4 separate regions of the Homo sapiens genome follow, and all the other regions are linked to region 3. The links are contacts of gene promoters, found by promoter capture Hi-C in blood cells and fetal thymus (Javierre and others, 2016). All regions are on one chromosome and are shown on one strand. Each heading gives the region's core, a stretch centred on a gene start or on the middle of the fragment in contact. The rest is flanking DNA. Distances are from core to core; before and after follow the strand shown. Region 1 holds the start of ACOT7 (acyl-CoA thioesterase 7). Region 2 overlaps PLEKHG5 (pleckstrin homology and RhoGEF domain containing G5). Region 3 holds the start of THAP3 (THAP domain containing 3). Region 4 holds the start of TNFRSF25 (TNF receptor superfamily member 25).

Evidence for each region. Contacts are between HindIII fragments. The CHiCAGO score rates a contact against its expected background, and 5 or more counts as called.
Region 1: a contact is called between the fragment with the promoter of ACOT7 here and the fragment with the promoter of THAP3 in region 3, in 11 of 17 cell types (non-activated CD4 T cells, naive CD8 T cells, activated CD4 T cells and 8 more). The highest score is 11.3, in non-activated CD4 T cells.
Region 2: a fragment that was not itself captured here is called in contact with the fragment with the promoter of THAP3 in region 3 in 11 of 17 cell types (naive CD8 T cells, naive CD4 T cells, fetal thymus and 8 more); the score reaches 11.9 in naive CD8 T cells.
Region 4: the fragment with the promoter of TNFRSF25 here is called in contact with the fragment with the promoter of THAP3 in region 3 in 5 of 17 cell types (activated CD4 T cells, non-activated CD4 T cells, naive CD4 T cells and 2 more); the score reaches 11.2 in activated CD4 T cells.

What each region holds. Positions count from the first base shown.
Region 1 is chr1:6,391,637-6,395,515 of GRCh38, reverse strand. ACOT7 (acyl-CoA thioesterase 7) reads left to right here and starts at 1,749. Exons shown (of 9, transcript NM_007274.4): 1 at 1,749-2,259. The coding sequence starts at 2,117. RefSeq lists enhancers at 1-112, 865-1,375, 1,376-1,888, 1,889-2,400 and silencers at 1,629-2,078, 2,349-2,438. The HindIII fragment of the contact is 26,067 bases long and covers 1-3,879 here.
Region 2 is chr1:6,485,843-6,489,920 of GRCh38, reverse strand. The region is part of intron 1 of PLEKHG5 (pleckstrin homology and RhoGEF domain containing G5); the gene reads left to right. Among named protein-coding and RNA genes, the nearest start is that of PLEKHG5, 3.8 kb to the left of the region's middle. The HindIII fragment of the contact is 7,493 bases long and covers 1-4,078 here.
Region 3 is chr1:6,623,505-6,627,290 of GRCh38, reverse strand. It overlaps THAP3 (THAP domain containing 3), which reads right to left and starts at 2,423. Exons shown (of 6, transcript NM_001195753.2): 1 at 2,337-2,423; 2 at 1,999-2,141. The coding sequence starts at 2,072. It overlaps PHF13 (PHD finger protein 13), which reads right to left. Exons shown (of 4, transcript NM_153812.3): 4 at 3,261-3,786. RefSeq lists a silencer at 1,623-2,032. The HindIII fragment of the contact is 4,820 bases long and covers 1-3,767 here.
Region 4 is chr1:6,464,091-6,467,916 of GRCh38, reverse strand. TNFRSF25 (TNF receptor superfamily member 25) reads left to right here and starts at 1,744. Exons shown (of 10, transcript NM_003790.3): 1 at 1,744-1,848; 2 at 2,357-2,477; 3 at 2,695-2,829; 4 at 3,198-3,365; 5 at 3,464-3,542. The coding sequence starts at 1,810. It overlaps PLEKHG5 (pleckstrin homology and RhoGEF domain containing G5), which reads left to right. Exons shown (of 21, transcript NM_020631.6): 20 at 1-92; 21 at 345-795. The coding sequence ends at 354. RefSeq lists an enhancer at 975-1,923. The HindIII fragment of the contact is 14,059 bases long and covers 1-3,826 here.

The DNA of each region.
Region 1 (3,879 bases), core at 500-2,999, 230 kb after region 3:
GGAGAACCTTTGTGTCGACACTCTATCTAGCTAATCTGGTGGGGACATGGAGAACCTTTGTGTCTAGCTCAGGGATTGTAAACACACCAATCAGCACCCTGTCAAAACAGACCACTCTGCTCTACCAATCAGCAGGATGTGGGTAGGGCTAGATGAGAGAATAAAAGCAGGCTGCCCGAGCCAGCAGTGGCAACCCACTCTGGTCCCCTTCCACGCTGTAGGAGTGTTGTTCTTTCGCTCTTTGGGTCCACACTGCCTTTATGAGCCGTTAACATTCACTGTGAAGGTCTGCAGCTTCACTCCTGAGCCAGGGAGACCACGAACCCACCAGAAGGAAGAAACTCCAGATGCGCCACCTTAAGAGCTGTAACACTCACCACGAGGGTCCGCGGCTTCATTCTTGAAGTCGGTGAGACCAAGAACCCACCAATTCTGGACACATCTGTACTAAAAATACAAAAATAAGCCAAACGTGGTGGTGCATGCCTATGGTCCCAGCTACTCAGTGTGGTTGAGGCAGGAGAATTGCTTGAAACTGGATGGCAGAGGTTACAGTGAGCTATCACACCACTGCATTCCAGCCTGGGCGACAGAACGAGACTCTATATCAAAAAAAGAAAACAGGCCAGGCGTGGTGGCTCACGCCTGTAATCCCACCACTTTGGGAGGCAGAGGCGGGCAGATCACAAGGTCAGGAGATCAAGACCATCCTGGCTAACACAGTGAAACCCCGTCTCTACTAAAAATACAAAAAATTAGCCGGGCGTGGTGGCAGGCGCCTGTAGTCCCAGCTACTTGGGAGGCTGAGGCAGGAGAATGGCGTGAACCTGGGAGGCGGAGCTTGCAGTGAGCTGAGATTGCACCACTGCACTCCAGCCTGGGCAACAGAGCAAGACTCCGTCTCAAAAAAAAAAAAAAAAAAAGAAAACAGAAAAACAAAATTCTTAGTATAAAAGTCTTGAAATCACAGAGTTCTGACTTTGACTGCCCCTGCTTCTGGGAGCTACAGATCATGCTGTGGGCTGCCTCCACGGTCTGGTAACTCAAGGGTGACCGGGGTGAGGCACAGTTCCTTCAGAGCTACCTAGCTGAGTGTAAATGGGTTGTTCAAATTGCACTAGGGAGCCGGAGTTGCGTGGGTTTTAATTTAAAGATGTAAGTACAAATCTATGTGCATTGTAGAAAATTCGGAAAAGGTCCAACTGCCTAGCAAGTAAAAAGCTGTCATTCCAGCACGTGGGGGGTGACCGCTTCTCCCTTCTTGGGTGTTTTTTGGTGGATTTTTTTTGGTGACCCCGACTGGCCTAGACTCCATTCAAGGGCACATCTTGTGCAGTAAAACACGCATGTTTCAGGGCTCCTCACTGCAACACGTGCACCTCCAGGCTGGCGCTCAGCGCTCCCAGTAAAAGCTGCAGGCGGCGGTGTAGATAGTCGCCGGCCTTTCCTCCTCCCCACCTCGTGACGCTTTGTGCTGCGGAAGCAAAGGCCCGTTCCATTCCCCGTGTCTTCCCAGCAGCCGCCACCAATGCTCCTTTCTAGGAAACAGCCTTCCATTCTCTCTTAGGGCCGATCTTAGCGAGAGCCGCGATGCGGGCGACTGGTGCCGGGGTGGGTTGGGGGCGGGGGTGGGAATCAGGCCCCACTGCCAGGAGCCCGGGCCGCGCCTTCCGCTCTGACCTCATCCGGCCGCCCAGGCACTGGGCGCGGCAGCGAATCGGCGGCGCGGGCGGCCGGGAACGCCCAGCACAAATATTTACCGCCGCGCGGAGAGTGAGGGCCCAAGTCCGCCCTGCTCCGCCACTTAGGCCGCCCCAGACGCTTCCCTCGGGGCTGCCACCGGGTCGGGCGCGGCTGCCGCGGCTAGCGGGCCTTCCCCGCACCGGCGCGGCCCAACCGCCACCGAACCTTCTGGAAGCGGCGGCTGCCTGGGCCCCCACGCCGCCAGAATCGTACGCCCGCGCGAGCTCTCTGCAGCCTTGGCGGCCTGGGAGGCGGGGCTCGGGGTGGGGCCGGCGCGGGGGCGGGGTCGGCGCGGGGAGGCCGCGTTCGATTGCCCCCGGCGCGCAGGCCCCGCCTCACCAGCCCCATCGCTCCACCTCTGCCCTCCCCCTTTATGGCGCGGCCCGGGCTCATTCATTCCGCGCCGGGCCTGCCAGACACCTGCGCCCTTCTGCAGCCGCCCGCCGCATCCGCCGCCGCAGCCCCCAGCATGTCGGGCCCAGACGTCGAGACGCCGTCCGCCATCCAGATCTGCCGGTAAGAGAGGGCCCGCGCGCAGCCTGCAGCGGCCAGGCGCGCCGGTCACCGCCCCAGGCCTGCCCCGCTTGGCTCTGTGGTCCCCACCCGCCGAGGCCGCCCCCGCCCGCCGATTCCCCGCACGGCCTTCCGCGCCGCCGCCCCGGACGCCCGCCCGGCCGGGATGCGACTCGCGATGCCGCACAAGCCGGGCGGCCCCCGCCCGCCTCCAGCCGGCTCCTCCTGGCCGCATCTCCAGGGCGGCGGCCGCGCCACGGGCCGTTTGGGCGAGAAAGCCAGGCAGGGACGGGGCGGGCGGAGGTCAATGCACAGCTCCAGAGCCCGGCGACCGGCGCCCGTGGGCCGCCCCGCCTCGGGCCTCGCCCGAGCATCCCGGAGCCTCAGCCCCGTGGTCCTGCTTAGCCTCCTCGAGGATTCGGGATCATTACCTCGGCGGTTGTGCTGCGCTAACCAAAGCCCCCAGAGGTGGAGGGGAGGTGCCCAGAGCCGCGCGAGCCCCTCGGTGGGTGCCCCTGTGGGAGGAGGTTGCAGAGCTACCGTCTTCAGTGCACTGCTTCGGTTTGGGGGAGGGCAGGTGTTGAAAGGAAGAACAGATAATACTGTCTACCTCTAACAGTTTACTATGAAGAAAAGGGAATCAGTGGTCTGTTGGGCCTGAAAGCATCTTACACAATAGAGGCAAAGGGTTGTCCTTCTAGAGCACCCCCTCTTCTTCCACCAGGTACTGAGTAGATAGATGCAGGCCCCCAGAGGAAGCTGGAGGCTGGAGATCATGAACAAGCTCATTTCCCATAGGAGGTGGGGAGGGCAGCCTGAAGGTTACTCTGCAGTTCTCTTCGGCAGAATCGGAAGCAGCAGGCTGGCATTTGTGCATGAGCTAAGTGAGGACAAGGAGTCTAGGTTTTCAGCCACTGCACACAGGCTCTGTGGCCTGCGACCGGTCCTATCCTGCTTGATGAACTACCAGGAGTGAGAGCTGCTTTCTGTTTTGGTAGTGGGTTCCTCACATTTGGGGGTTGGGCATCACAGACTGACCTTGGGCTCAAGCCAAGTCCAATAGAAGCAAGTTACTTTCCTGTAGATGTTGACATCTCCAGGAAGGCTGGGCATATAGCAAGTCCTGGGTCTATGGCGATTCTTGACTCTCAGTCTCATCTTCTGGCCTGGTCGAGGGCCTCTCCTTACCTCAAGGTCGGTTTTGACTTTTCCAGAGGGGGAACGTCTTTGGGGGAGCCCTGCCCCTTTGACTTTGGCTCTGTGGCTGTTCTGGTCCCATCGACTCTGGAGGTGGGGAAAGCGGGGCAAAAAAAAAAAAGGAAATAACTGGAGACAGACAGCCTGCATCAGGTTCCTGAATCAGCTCTGCTGAGTATTGGCTGGGAAACTTGGGCTCCATGGTTTGCAAAGAGCTTATACCTGTCTCATCCCACTTGGTTTGCCCAATTCCCTGGGAGGTTGATGGTCGGTAGTGCCACCCTTACCTGTGTGGAGGAGGAAATGGCAGTTTTGGGAGTTGAGTAACTGTGTAAGGTCATCCTGCTCCAGGAGATCCAGGGACAGCCCCTGCCCAAGTCTTCTGACTCCAGATCCAGTATTCTTCCCACCCCTCTCCTGAATAAA
Region 2 (4,078 bases), core at 1,134-3,633, 140 kb after region 3:
AGGCCAAGAGGTCCCCTGCAGATTCCTTAGTAACTCCTCAAGTTGAGGGAGCTCGGGGGTATTTTACCATTCTCCTGCCCTTTAGCCGGGGTCCGGGCACACACTAGGACCTGGCAGCCATCCCCAGATACTGAATTCTATGCCCTCTTGGCACAGGTGGGCAAATTGAGGCCCAGTAGGGGAAGGGTGGGGGAACGTAGGCTCCAGACCAGGTCTTCTGAAGCCCAGGCAGGTGCCCTCTTTCCCCCGCTCCCTACCAAGGAGGCTTCTAAGTTGCACCGGGGAAGGGCTTGCTAGTCCAGGTGCTCCGAAGACACACGCTGGGGTCTGGGGCTGGGAACTGCAGAGGCTGGGCAGGAGGGGATGTTCACAGACTGCAGCCCCTCCCTCTTTCTCTAGCACTGGGTCCCAGCCTTGGGCATACTAGCCAGGACCGCTCCCTGGGGAGGAAGGGGCCTTCCTGGCTTCCAGGGCCCGTGCGGTGGGCTTAGCCTGGGGAGAGGTTTTCTGTGTCCCTGCCATCTGCCCGGCACAGGGCAGGGCCTTAGGTCAGGCTCTGACTCCAGGTGAGCCTCAGAACCCAAGGGGTGATGGGTGAGGCCTGGGCCTAGGGGAAAGGAGGGTGGGTAGGCCGGGTGGAGCGTAGAGAGCCGCCTGGCAAAGCCACCCCGCCCTGGCTGGCCTGCCCATGCATGCAGTCTCCACCCCTGGATTTCTAAGGTGTTGGGTGGGGCCTTGGGACTAGCAGGCTCCCAGGGGAGCTTAGCCTTGGTGGGAATTCCTGGCAAGGACATCCCTCCAGCCAGAGAGCTCGGACTCCTGGTTCCAGGCCCGTCTGCTGTCGGCAGAGCCTGGAGCTGGCCCCAGACCTGCGTCCTTTCCTGGACAGGGAAGTCCCTCTCCCACCCAGACCAGGCTGGGGCCCCAGCTCGTTGTGGGGCAGGGATGCCTGGGGGATCCCTGGTTTCCCATCTGCTTTTCTGGGGCTGGGGGAGGTGATACTGAGGGAGAACAGCCGGGTGCGGGGGTCCTGCCTTGGAGACTCCATTATTCATCAGCCTCCGCATCTGGTTTCTGGGTATCAGTTTCAACAAGCCGGCCCTGACTCACAAGCCTGGAGCTGGGGCTGGGCTGGGGAGGGGCTCCCTCCCCAGGGAGTTGGGGGCCAGGACTTCTTGGGCCTGCCCCTGAGCTGTTTCAGCTCCCTGCTGTGGAGAGGAGGTGGGAATGCAGGAGCCTGCCCAGGCCCACCCCACTGCCCTGGTACAGGGGCTGGGGGCTCCTTTCTGCTCTGCACTCTTGCCCCTAAGGAACAGTCCCCCACCCTTGCTGAGTACCCAGGCAGCAGCCTCACTCAGGGATGGCCAGGGCCCAGGCACTCAGGTGACCTCTGGTGATCCGCCCTGACCCAGCCCTGGTGGTCTCCACTTGATGCAACCTGGTTACCCCACACCGGTGGGCTCCCCACAAGCTGGCTTTGGGATCTGCCGTGTCTTCAGGAAGGCAATCTCCAGGGCCCTGTTGCCCAAACCAACATTCAGCTGTCTTCAGGCCCCACGCCTGCCCTGTGCCTGAGGCACCCATTTCCCTACGTAGCAGCAGCTGGTGACTTTGGGGCAAGTCAGTTGACACAGGCCTTAGTTTCTCTATCTGTTAAATGGGGATTGTAACAGTATCTCCTCCTAAGAGTCTTTGAGAAGAGCGAATGGGATTCACTGCCTGGAACTCCCACGATGGGGTGGCACATGGAATGCTCAGTGAAATGCAGTTATCTGCCTACAGGACAGTATGGGGGTGGAGGTCTGGGGCAAGACCACCCGATTTGAAGTAGGAACTCACCTGCCCAGGGCCAGCAGGCCCAAGGTCATGGATACTAGGAGGAGGAAGAGACCTTCGGTCTGGCAGTGGGGAAGGCTCTGTTGACTGTCGGCCACAGGAAGGGATATCCTGGCCGAGCCCTTTCCTGTCCCCATGTCCTTCTGTGGCATGAAGGCCCTTCTGCCTTCATCTGTTCACTGATCTCATCCCCACCAAGCGCACCTACTGTGCACCAGGACTGTTCTAAGTGCCGAGGACACAGTGAGATGCAGACGGCCAAGGCGCTGGCTTCTGGAGAGGACAGTCTGGTAGGGAAGAATGATGATAAAAAAGTGAACAAAGAAATGAATTACAGGTAGTAATAAACACTAAGAAGGAAATAATTTAACTTAAAGGAATTGAGAGTGGGAGGGTAAGGGTGGTTTATTTTAAGATGAGGGAAAAGGACGTCTTAGAGGTAACATTTAAGTTGGGGCCCGGTGTCAGCTGTTTCAAGATAGGGTGCGTGGAATTCCAGACAGAAAATACAGAGGAGAAGGCCCTGAGCTTGGCGAGCTGTAGGGAGAGAAGGAAGACCGGCAGGTGGACCCTGTGCGGACCAGCTGGGAGGGAGGCGGGAGCCCGGCCATGGTGGGATTTCACTATAAGCAAGATGGGAAGTTTTAGTTTTCAAAACTCTGCCTGTTGGCCGGGTGTGGTGGCTCATGCCTGTAATCTCAGCACTTTGGGAGGCCAAGGTGGGGGTGGATCACTTGAGATCAGGAGTTAGTGACCAGCCTGGTCAACATGGCGAAACCCCATCTCTACTAAAATACAAAAAGTAGCTGGGTGTAGTGGCGGGCGCCTGTAATCCCAGCTACTGGGGAGGCTGAGGCAGAAGAATCACTTGAACCTGGGAGGTGGAGGTCGTAGTGAGCTGGGATCATGCCACTGCACTCCAACGTGAGTGACAGAGCAAGATTCCGTCTCAAAAACAAACAAACAAAAAACAAAAACACAACTCTGCCTGTGGTGTAGACAGTGGGTGACCTGGGCTTTGGGAGTGGAGACAGCCCTGGAAGTCTCCCAGCCTCTAATAAAACGCTGCTGCCCTCCCAAAGCCATCTCACGGACCCTGGCCCCCTTCCCACCCTCTTTCCCCATGGAACCAGGTGGAGGAGGAGCAATTAGGGGTGGGTGGGCTGATGACAGACAGCATGGCCACCTCACCCCCATGGGTTCTGAGGAGTGTCCCAAGGAGGCCATCCCAGAATCCCAGAGCCACAGTCTGAGTTTCAGTCTTGCCTGTAGACTTTTGTCTCTTTATGTCACTTTATCCCCCACGCCGTGAATGGGGCTAATGGTGCCTGCCCTGCCTTCCTGGGAATCAGTGTAAAAGCGCTTTGACAGCCGTGTAGTGGTGACTCCAGCACCAGAGTCTGGGCGTTTGCGTCCTCTCAGGCTTTGCTGAGTGCCCCCTGGCGGTGGGGACCTGGCCTAGAACTGCAGGGACCTGGGCTGCTGTGCCATGTGGGTCGCCAGGGTTTCCTGATGCCTCCACCTCACCCAGCTCCTGGGGGCTGCCAAGGATAGCCTCTCAGAGCAGCCCGCCTTCTGCCCACGGCCCTTTCCAGAGGCCACCGGCCTTTGGCTCTCGGCCTCTGCCGTACCTGGGCAGTGAGCAGTCGGTGTGAGGGGGTGTCCCTGGGGCTCAGGCTCTCGGGCAGGGGTCTCCAGGTTGATGGGAGGGGCTGAGATGAGAGCTGGTTGTGAGGTTGGGGTGGGTGTGTGACTGGGGCTCAAAGCTGGTGTTGGAGCAGAGAGGGGTGTCCCTGGGGCTAGATGGAGAGCCGGACCAAGGACCCTGAGGGGAGTGTGCCCCATCCTGGCCTCCCCCTTCTGGTGCCTGTATTCTAAGAGCTCCCTTGCTGGGAGTAAGAAGGGGTCCCCTGGGCTGAGGCTCCGAGGCGGGGGTGGGGGTCTCCAGGAGGAAGGGAGGAGGGAAGGTACCCTTCTGGCTGGGAGGGACCGTGCGTGTTGGCGCTGAGGGTGAGGTGGGGACCACAGCAGAGTGGGCACCCCCAGGGCTGGGCGGGGATCGAGTCACCCAGGGGAGGGGCTCCACAGTCTCCAAGGTGGGGGGGGGTGTCACCAGCGCCCCCTGCCTCCAGCATTCAAGGAGCTCCCCAGGAGAAAGAGCAAGTTCTGAGGAGCCCTCTGAGCCCGGCATTGGTGTTGAGGAGGGAGTCAGAGAAGAGAGGGGCCCGGGGCCGCGCAGAGG
Region 3 (3,786 bases), core at 1,174-3,673:
TGGAGATGTCAGTGTGGCGGCCAACCCTGCGGAACCGATAAGCCTGGGTGAGATGGGCCCCTGGGGAGCAAGTGTGGCTAGAAGCCACCCCTGGGCCATGGCCCACACCCCAGGGCTCCAACACTTAGTGCTGGAAATAAGGAGGATCCAGCAAAGGAGACTGAGAAGAGACACCTGTGGCCAAGAAGTGTACCAGACGCCATGCGGGAAAAGTGACCCAGGCTCAGGGGTCAGTTGTGTGAAATGCTATGCAATCGATCAGTGTCACAAGGCTCACTAGTGATGTGACAGAGCTCTCGTGGGAGTGGAGGAAACGACTTCAAGAGAGAAGGCGCAGCAACTCCATCCCCAAGTACATACCTGACAGAGGCAAAACAGATAGATGCACTGCAACACAAGTCCCACCAAAACTGGCCAAAACAATGTTTGTTTTGTTTTGTTTTTTGAGACGGAGTCTCGCTCTGTTGCCCAAGATGGAGTGTAGTGGTGCGATCTCGGTTCACTGCAAGCTCTGCCTCCCAGGGTCAAGTGATTCTCCTGCCTTAGCCTCCTGAGTAGCTGGGATTTCAGGTGCGCGCTACCACGCCCGGGTAATTTTTGTATTTGTAGTAGAGAAGTAGAGACGGGGTTTCACCATGTTGGTCAGGCTGGTCTCCAACTCCTGACCTCAGGTGATCCACCCAGCTCGGCCTCCCAAAGTGCTGGGATTACAGGCGTGAGCCACCACGCCCAGCCTCCAGAACCATGTATTTGTCATCCAAAAAATGGGGCCACCCAAATGCCCTTCAATTGTAGAACAAATCAGTAAATTCTGGCACTTGCATTCAATGGAATATTATGTGGCAACGAAAGCGAATGAACTGCAATCCACTCTGATAGCGGGCAGGATAGGGTTCCCTTTGGGCAGGAGAGAGGAGGAGGGCCTGGGAGGGGGTCCAGGTAGGGGTTCTTCTCGGGGGTAGTGATGTTTTATTTCTTATTTTGAGATGAGGTATCGCTCTGTCACCCAGGCTGGAGTGCAGTGGCAAGATTATAGCTCACTGCAGCCTCGAAGCTGGGTTCAAGCGATCCTCCTACTTCAGTCTCCCGAGCAGCTGGGACTACAGGGGCACACCACCTTGCCTGGCTAATTTTTTTAAATTATTTGTAGAGGTAGGGTCTCCTTCTGTTGCCCAGGCAGGTCTCGAACTCCCAGGCTCAAGCGATCCTCCCGCCTCGGCCTCCCAAAGTGCTGGGATGACAGGCTTGAGCCACCGCGCCCAGCTGGTAACGTTTCAGTTCAGTGACGTTCACTTGGGGAAAACTCGCTGGGCTGTATACTTATGATTCGTGCATTTTTCTGCATGTACATTACGTATACTTCAAGCAAAGCATTTATCACAAAACAGAACAATGGGAGCAGAGGGAATGGGAACGATGAGCACAAGCCCCCCTTCGGAATGTGCCCAAAAGTGGGTAGAGAAATGGTGCCGTGACTGGACCTTGGAGAAAGCGCAACTGTGACTAATGACGATTGCTCCTGGGCCGGGCCGGGCCGGGCCGGGCGAGTGCTGGAGCAGACTCCAAAGTCTCCAGCGTCCTCCCGCGACCCTGCAGAGTCCCTTCCCACTGCCAGGACGCCCCTGGGGGTTCCACTCCTCCACTGCACTGCCCAGGTGCCGGGCTCCCTTCAGGACCGCGCGCGGCGGGGGCTGCAGCGACCAGGGACACAGCAAACCCCGGCCGCGGCCCGCTAGTCTGTTCAGCAAACACCTGCTCCGCTCCCTGCACGTCCCGGCCCTGGCCCCGCCAGGTGCGCCGCTGCCCCTCCGTCCGCCACTCCCCGCATCCCCGCGGCGGGCGCGGCGGCGCCAGCCCCTCTGGGCCCAGGACCTCGGCCTGTCCCCGGGCCCAGCGGCCGCACGCCTTTGGGCCTCCCGCCCGGCGCGCCAAGGCCTCGGAGTCGGTCCGCGGGCCCCGGGTCTGGGCCTCCCGCGCCCCCGGGTCCCCGCCTCTTACCGGTGGAAGGTGAGCTGCTTCCTGCGGCTGCTGTAGCGGTTGCAGCACTGCCGGGCCGCGCACGACTTCGGCATCTCGAGCCAGGCCTGGCTGCCCCCAACAAAGATGGCGGCGGCGGCGGGGCCTGCGGAGAGGGGAGGGACCTGCGGGGAGGGGCGGGGCCGCTGGGAGGTGGTGACGGGCCTGGCTCGCCTCCAGGGCGCGCTCATCCTGCCATCCCAGCCACCCGCGTCTCCCCAGGGTCGGACGGGACCCGGGGCGCCACGTAAAGGGGTGCTCCGGGCCCCAATTCAGGCCCGAAACCCCAACTCCTAGCCTTGGGCCTGTGCAAGTCTTACCCCATTCGCCAATGCTGGTCGCCTTTCACCTCCTTGCTTTGAGCACCCAACCAGGACGCATAGCCACTCACAGGCTTGGACAACTGGAAACCAACGGCCAACCCCTCAGTGTTTTTAGGGCTTTGAATTGTGAATAGGTCTGGACTCCTCTGACGTCACTGGAGGTGGTACTAGTTGGCCACTGGTGGTGTCAGTTCAGAGGCCAGACAGCTCACTGCCCTTAAGTTTGGTCACAGGGAACCCCCAAACGTGAAGAGGCAAAAAGGGCAACTGAAGGGGAGGGAGATTCCAGTTCAGGCCTTGCAGAAACTCCGAGGCTGCAGCTTTCTCAAAGCAGCCTATAGGGAAGGCGTCATCTTGTAAGAAGAAAAAAAAAAAAATCGGCCAGGCGCAGTGGCTCACGCCTGTAATCCCAGCACTTTGGGAGGCCGAGGCAGGCGGATCACCTGAGATCAGGAGTTCAAGGCCAGCCTGACCGACATGGTGAAACCCCATCTCTACTAAAAATACAAAAATTAGCCGCACATGGTGGCGGGCACCTGTAATTCCAGCTACTCGGAAGGCTGAAGCAGGAGAATCTCTTGAACCCGGGAGGTGGAAGTTACAATGAGCCAAAATCTCATCACAGCACTTCACAGCCTAGGTGACAAGAACGAAACTCAAGTCTCAAAAACAAAAAAAAAATCAAAAGTAGGCTAACCACTCACTGGGGCTTGAGCTAATCCTCAATCTGATGAAGAAACTGCAAAAACCATTCACATCTACTCGTCCTGTGGTTTGTTTCTAAGGAATTCACCAGCAAGGTACCTTAACACCGTGGGCATTTTCCATCCTGCTAAGTGCACACTGAGACGCTGCCTTCCCAGAGACTTGATGTAATCATGCTTTGGGGAGGTAGCAAGGAGAAAAGAAACACAATTGTCCTTCAGCACAGAACGCAATCGCCTGAACCTTGAATCATGAACCTCAAAGTAGCAATATATTTATTTACAAAATATACAGTTTCACAGAAACAGCTTCGCTTTATACACATAAACTTTAAAATTACACAGAACCATGTAAACGATGTGAAGTGTCTGGCCTGGCCAAAGCCAATGGGAGGGCCTACTTTTGGGGTGACATCCCTCCCTCCCCTCACTTCATTAGCCACCAACCAGGAACCACAGATGGGTCGTGCCTAATTTGCATATAAAGAAGCTGATTGCAGCTGCCCAGCTCAATCTAACACAAAAACCAAGGTGTCCGACTTCTTAGACACCACCCACAGGGACAGATCTGCTAAAAGAACAAAAATGCAATCAAGGAAACAAAATGGAGATGAGTATCACATGCATTCCAGAGGCATCGAACCTTCTAGCACACGTGACAGTTGCCAGGGCCGGCAGTTCCATTCTAAAGTCACATGGATTCTTAAATGCACCTTTAAAAGCTTGTGGAATTTTTTTTTTTC
Region 4 (3,826 bases), core at 495-2,994, 160 kb after region 3:
CCAGGGGTCTCTGCCCAGCACAGGAAGCTGACCCTGGCCCAGCTCTACCGAATCAGGACCACCCTGCTGCTTAACTCCACGCTCACTGCCTCGTGAGTGGCCTGGACTGGGGTAGGGCAGGTGGCTCAGGGCACTGGCATGGGGGCCCACTCATGCCTGGGAGCATCGCATTTGGGGAGGGTCATGGCGGAGGGAGCCTGAACCCTGCCCAGTGTCTGGGCGCAGGGGGCTGTGGTGGGCAGCAGTGAAGGGGCCTGAGGAGTGCCGTGGGGAAGAGAGGGTGACCAGAGCCACTCTGAATGGCGTCAGCCAAAGAAGGACTCTGTCCCCTCCCCACCCTGTAGGGAGGTCTGAGCAGAGGGAGGCCCCCAAGAGTGCCATTGACCAAGAGACAGCAGACAGCCTGCCTCCTGGGGCGTGCCGGCACCTGCTTCAGCTACTGCCTCCTGTATGCATGAGCCGGATGCTGGGCAGGATCCCTGCCTACGCCCGGGCCCGATTTGCGCTTTGCCGGACTGGATGGAGTGGAGGAGGCCCAGGCCACAGTACCACCCCACCTGCCCAGGCAGCCCCTCGTCACCTACTCCCCGAAGTTACCAGCTCAGCTCGAGTCTTCAGGGCTGGGCTCCTAGGCTGCCCATCCTACTTCTACCCTCACTGGCCTCCAGTGGGATTCACTCCTGCCCTGCCCCCACCTTCCCAGTCCCACAGGCCACCCCTGGCTTGGGCTGGGTTCTGTGAAGTTACGTATTTATTGAGCTTTTGGTTCTTTTATAAAGACTTGTCTAGACTCCACTGGGAAGAGTCCTTTGCTTTGGGGCCCAGTGACTCGGGGCACTTGAGTTCAGGGCGGCCTCCTTGTGTTCCTGTGCTCCTCCACTTGCCACGGATGGGCCACGGATGGAGCTTGCCATGGGAAGCACTGGGAAGTAATGGGGTGTGGGGTGCCACCAGACCAACACCCCCAGACTTCCCCACCTTCAGCCACCATCAGAGCCTCTCCCCAGGTGCCCCCCGGGGATTCAGGGCTGAATCTGCCCAGTTCCCACACTCAGGCCAGCCCTCTTGGGAAGGTGGGTCCTCCATGGGGGTCCCTTCAGGAACTTTTTTTTTTTTTTTAATACAGAGTCTCACTCTGTCACCTAGGTTGGAGTGCAGTGGTGTGATGTCGGCTCACTGCAACCTCTGCCTCCCGGGTTCAAACGATTCTCCTGCCCCAGCCACTCTAGTAGCTGGAACTGCAGGTGTGCACCACCACGCCGGGCTAGTTTTTGTATTTTAAGTAGAGACGGCATTTCACCATATTGGTCAGGCTGGTCTCGAACTCCTGACCCCAAGTGTTCCGCCCGCCTCTGCCTCCCATAGTGCTAGAATTACAGGCCTGAGCTACTGCGCTTGGCCCCTTGCGGTACTTTTGGCCCAACCTCCTCCATGGCTGGGGACGCGGAGGCCGAGAGAGAAGTCACTTGCCCTGGCTCTACCTTGAAGTGGTTCTCAGGGTTGGGGCGAGAGTCGGGGTGGGGACCGAGATGCAGCTCTATCCTGTGCCCCTGGTCGCAGCAGGCAGCCCAGCGCTTCGCGTGTTCTACTTGGCCTGTCCGCTGCCGCCTAATGAGCTCAGGTCTAGGCCGAGCAGAGGGGGCACCTGGTCGGACTCGGTTGGGCTCGGGCGGCCCCGCCTCCCCCCGCCCGCCAGGCGGGCCCTTCTCGACGGCGCGGGGCGGGCCCTGCGGGCGCGGGGCTGAAGGCGGAACCACGACGGGCAGAGAGCACGGAGCCGGGAAGCCCCTGGGCGCCCGTCGGAGGGCTATGGAGCAGCGGCCGCGGGGCTGCGCGGCGGTGGCGGCGGTGAGTTGAGACGCAGGAGGCTAGGGGCAGCTTTGAGCCCTGTCCCAAGAGCCTCGGTGAAGGAAGGGGCCCCGGGCGCGTCTCCACTCCAAGCCTCACTGGGGGCTGGGTTGGCCGCCCTTTCCGATCTCGTTAAAGGCTCCTCCAGGGCGTAGCCCTTCCACTGAGAGGAAACCCCTCCCAGGAGGGTCTGGGGGCCCCAGGCAGAGCATTATCAGTGTCCCTCCCCCAACAGAAAGCATGGGTGGGGGTGGGGGCGCTGCTGGATTCCTGCTCTGGTGGAGGGGAAACTTGTGAGGGGCTGGTAAGCGCCCCCTCCGAAGCCTGGTGTGTGCGCGGGGGGAAGGAAGTTAGTTTCCTCTCCACCCATGGGCACCCCTTCTGCCCGGGGCCTGGGAAGTGGGCTGCTCTGTGGGCAAATGCTGGGGCCTCTGAAATGGAGGAGACGCAGCAGGGAGAGGCCCCACGTGGGCAGCTGCGCTGAGAGTCAGCAGCACCTGTCCCCCAGGCGCTCCTCCTGGTGCTGCTGGGGGCCCGGGCCCAGGGCGGCACTCGTAGCCCCAGGTGTGACTGTGCCGGTGACTTCCACAAGAAGATTGGTCTGTTTTGTTGCAGAGGCTGCCCAGCGGGTAAGTGGCCACAGGGGTGGGAGAGGCATGGGGCAGGCAGGGCTGGAGAGGTGGCGGGCAGGCCCGGGAGGTAAGAGGAGGCTGGCAGGGGAGGTAGGGGTAGGCTGACAGAGAAGTAGGGAGCTGGAGAGAAAGAGGGAGGGAGGGCAGGGTGGGAAGCAGGTCGGGGGTTGCTGGGCAGCCCCTCTGCCTGCCTGACCCCTGCCTGGTTCCACAGGGCACTACCTGAAGGCCCCTTGCACGGAGCCCTGCGGCAACTCCACCTGCCTTGTGTGTCCCCAAGACACCTTCTTGGCCTGGGAGAACCACCATAATTCTGAATGTGCCCGCTGCCAGGCCTGTGATGAGCAGGGTGAGGGGCTTCTCAGTGCTTGGCAGGGAGTTCCTAAGGACAGGCCTTTCTGAAGGAAGTGGCTGGCTCGGGCCCAAACTTGGGGTGTGAGGGTCCTGCACCCACCCTTGCCAGAACCCTCCACCCTGATCCTCCTTCAGGGTGCCCTTGCCCCTTCTCTCTTCCTGGTGACCTTCCCATCTCTCCATGTGCCTTGGCCTCTGGTCGGCCTTAATCTCTGAGCTTCTCTCTTTTTTAGGGTAGCCCTGTACCTGTCTGTCTTTCGCCTATTTCTGTCTCCATTATCTTGGGATAATGCCTCTGCCTCTCCATGGGAGCCTTTGGCCCTGACTAACTCTCCACTCCCCATCTCCCTGCACCCCCACCAGCCTCCCAGGTGGCGCTGGAGAACTGTTCAGCAGTGGCCGACACCCGCTGTGGCTGTAAGCCAGGCTGGTTTGTGGAGTGCCAGGTCAGCCAATGTGTCAGCAGTTCACCCTTCTACTGCCAACCATGCCTAGACTGCGGGGCCCTGCACCGCCACACACGGCTACTCTGTGAGTACCCCCACCCAGGGCTCTCTACTCCCAGACCCCCTTCTCCCTGCCTGACCCACTCCTGTCCCATGGTGACGCATGCCTCTCCTGGATTGCAGGTTCCCGCAGAGATACTGACTGTGGGACCTGCCTGCCTGGCTTCTATGAACATGGCGATGGCTGCGTGTCCTGCCCCACGTAATTCCTAGCTGTCGTGGGATGGAGGGAAGGGCGGCTGGGAGCAGAGCAGGGGCCTGGGGTGGGGCAGGTGCTGCTGGTTCAGGAATAGGAAGAGGGGATAGGGAGGAGGGAGCCTTGGCCCTGTGATGGGTGGGCCCCACTTCAGGCAAACTTAGATGGCAAAAGAGCAATCTGGATCCGCCTTAGCCAGATACATAAGGGTATTTGCCTTCACTTTCAGCCAGCATTCCCCCCAGCGATCCTAGCCAGATATTACAGATGATTTGTCACTTACACAGAGA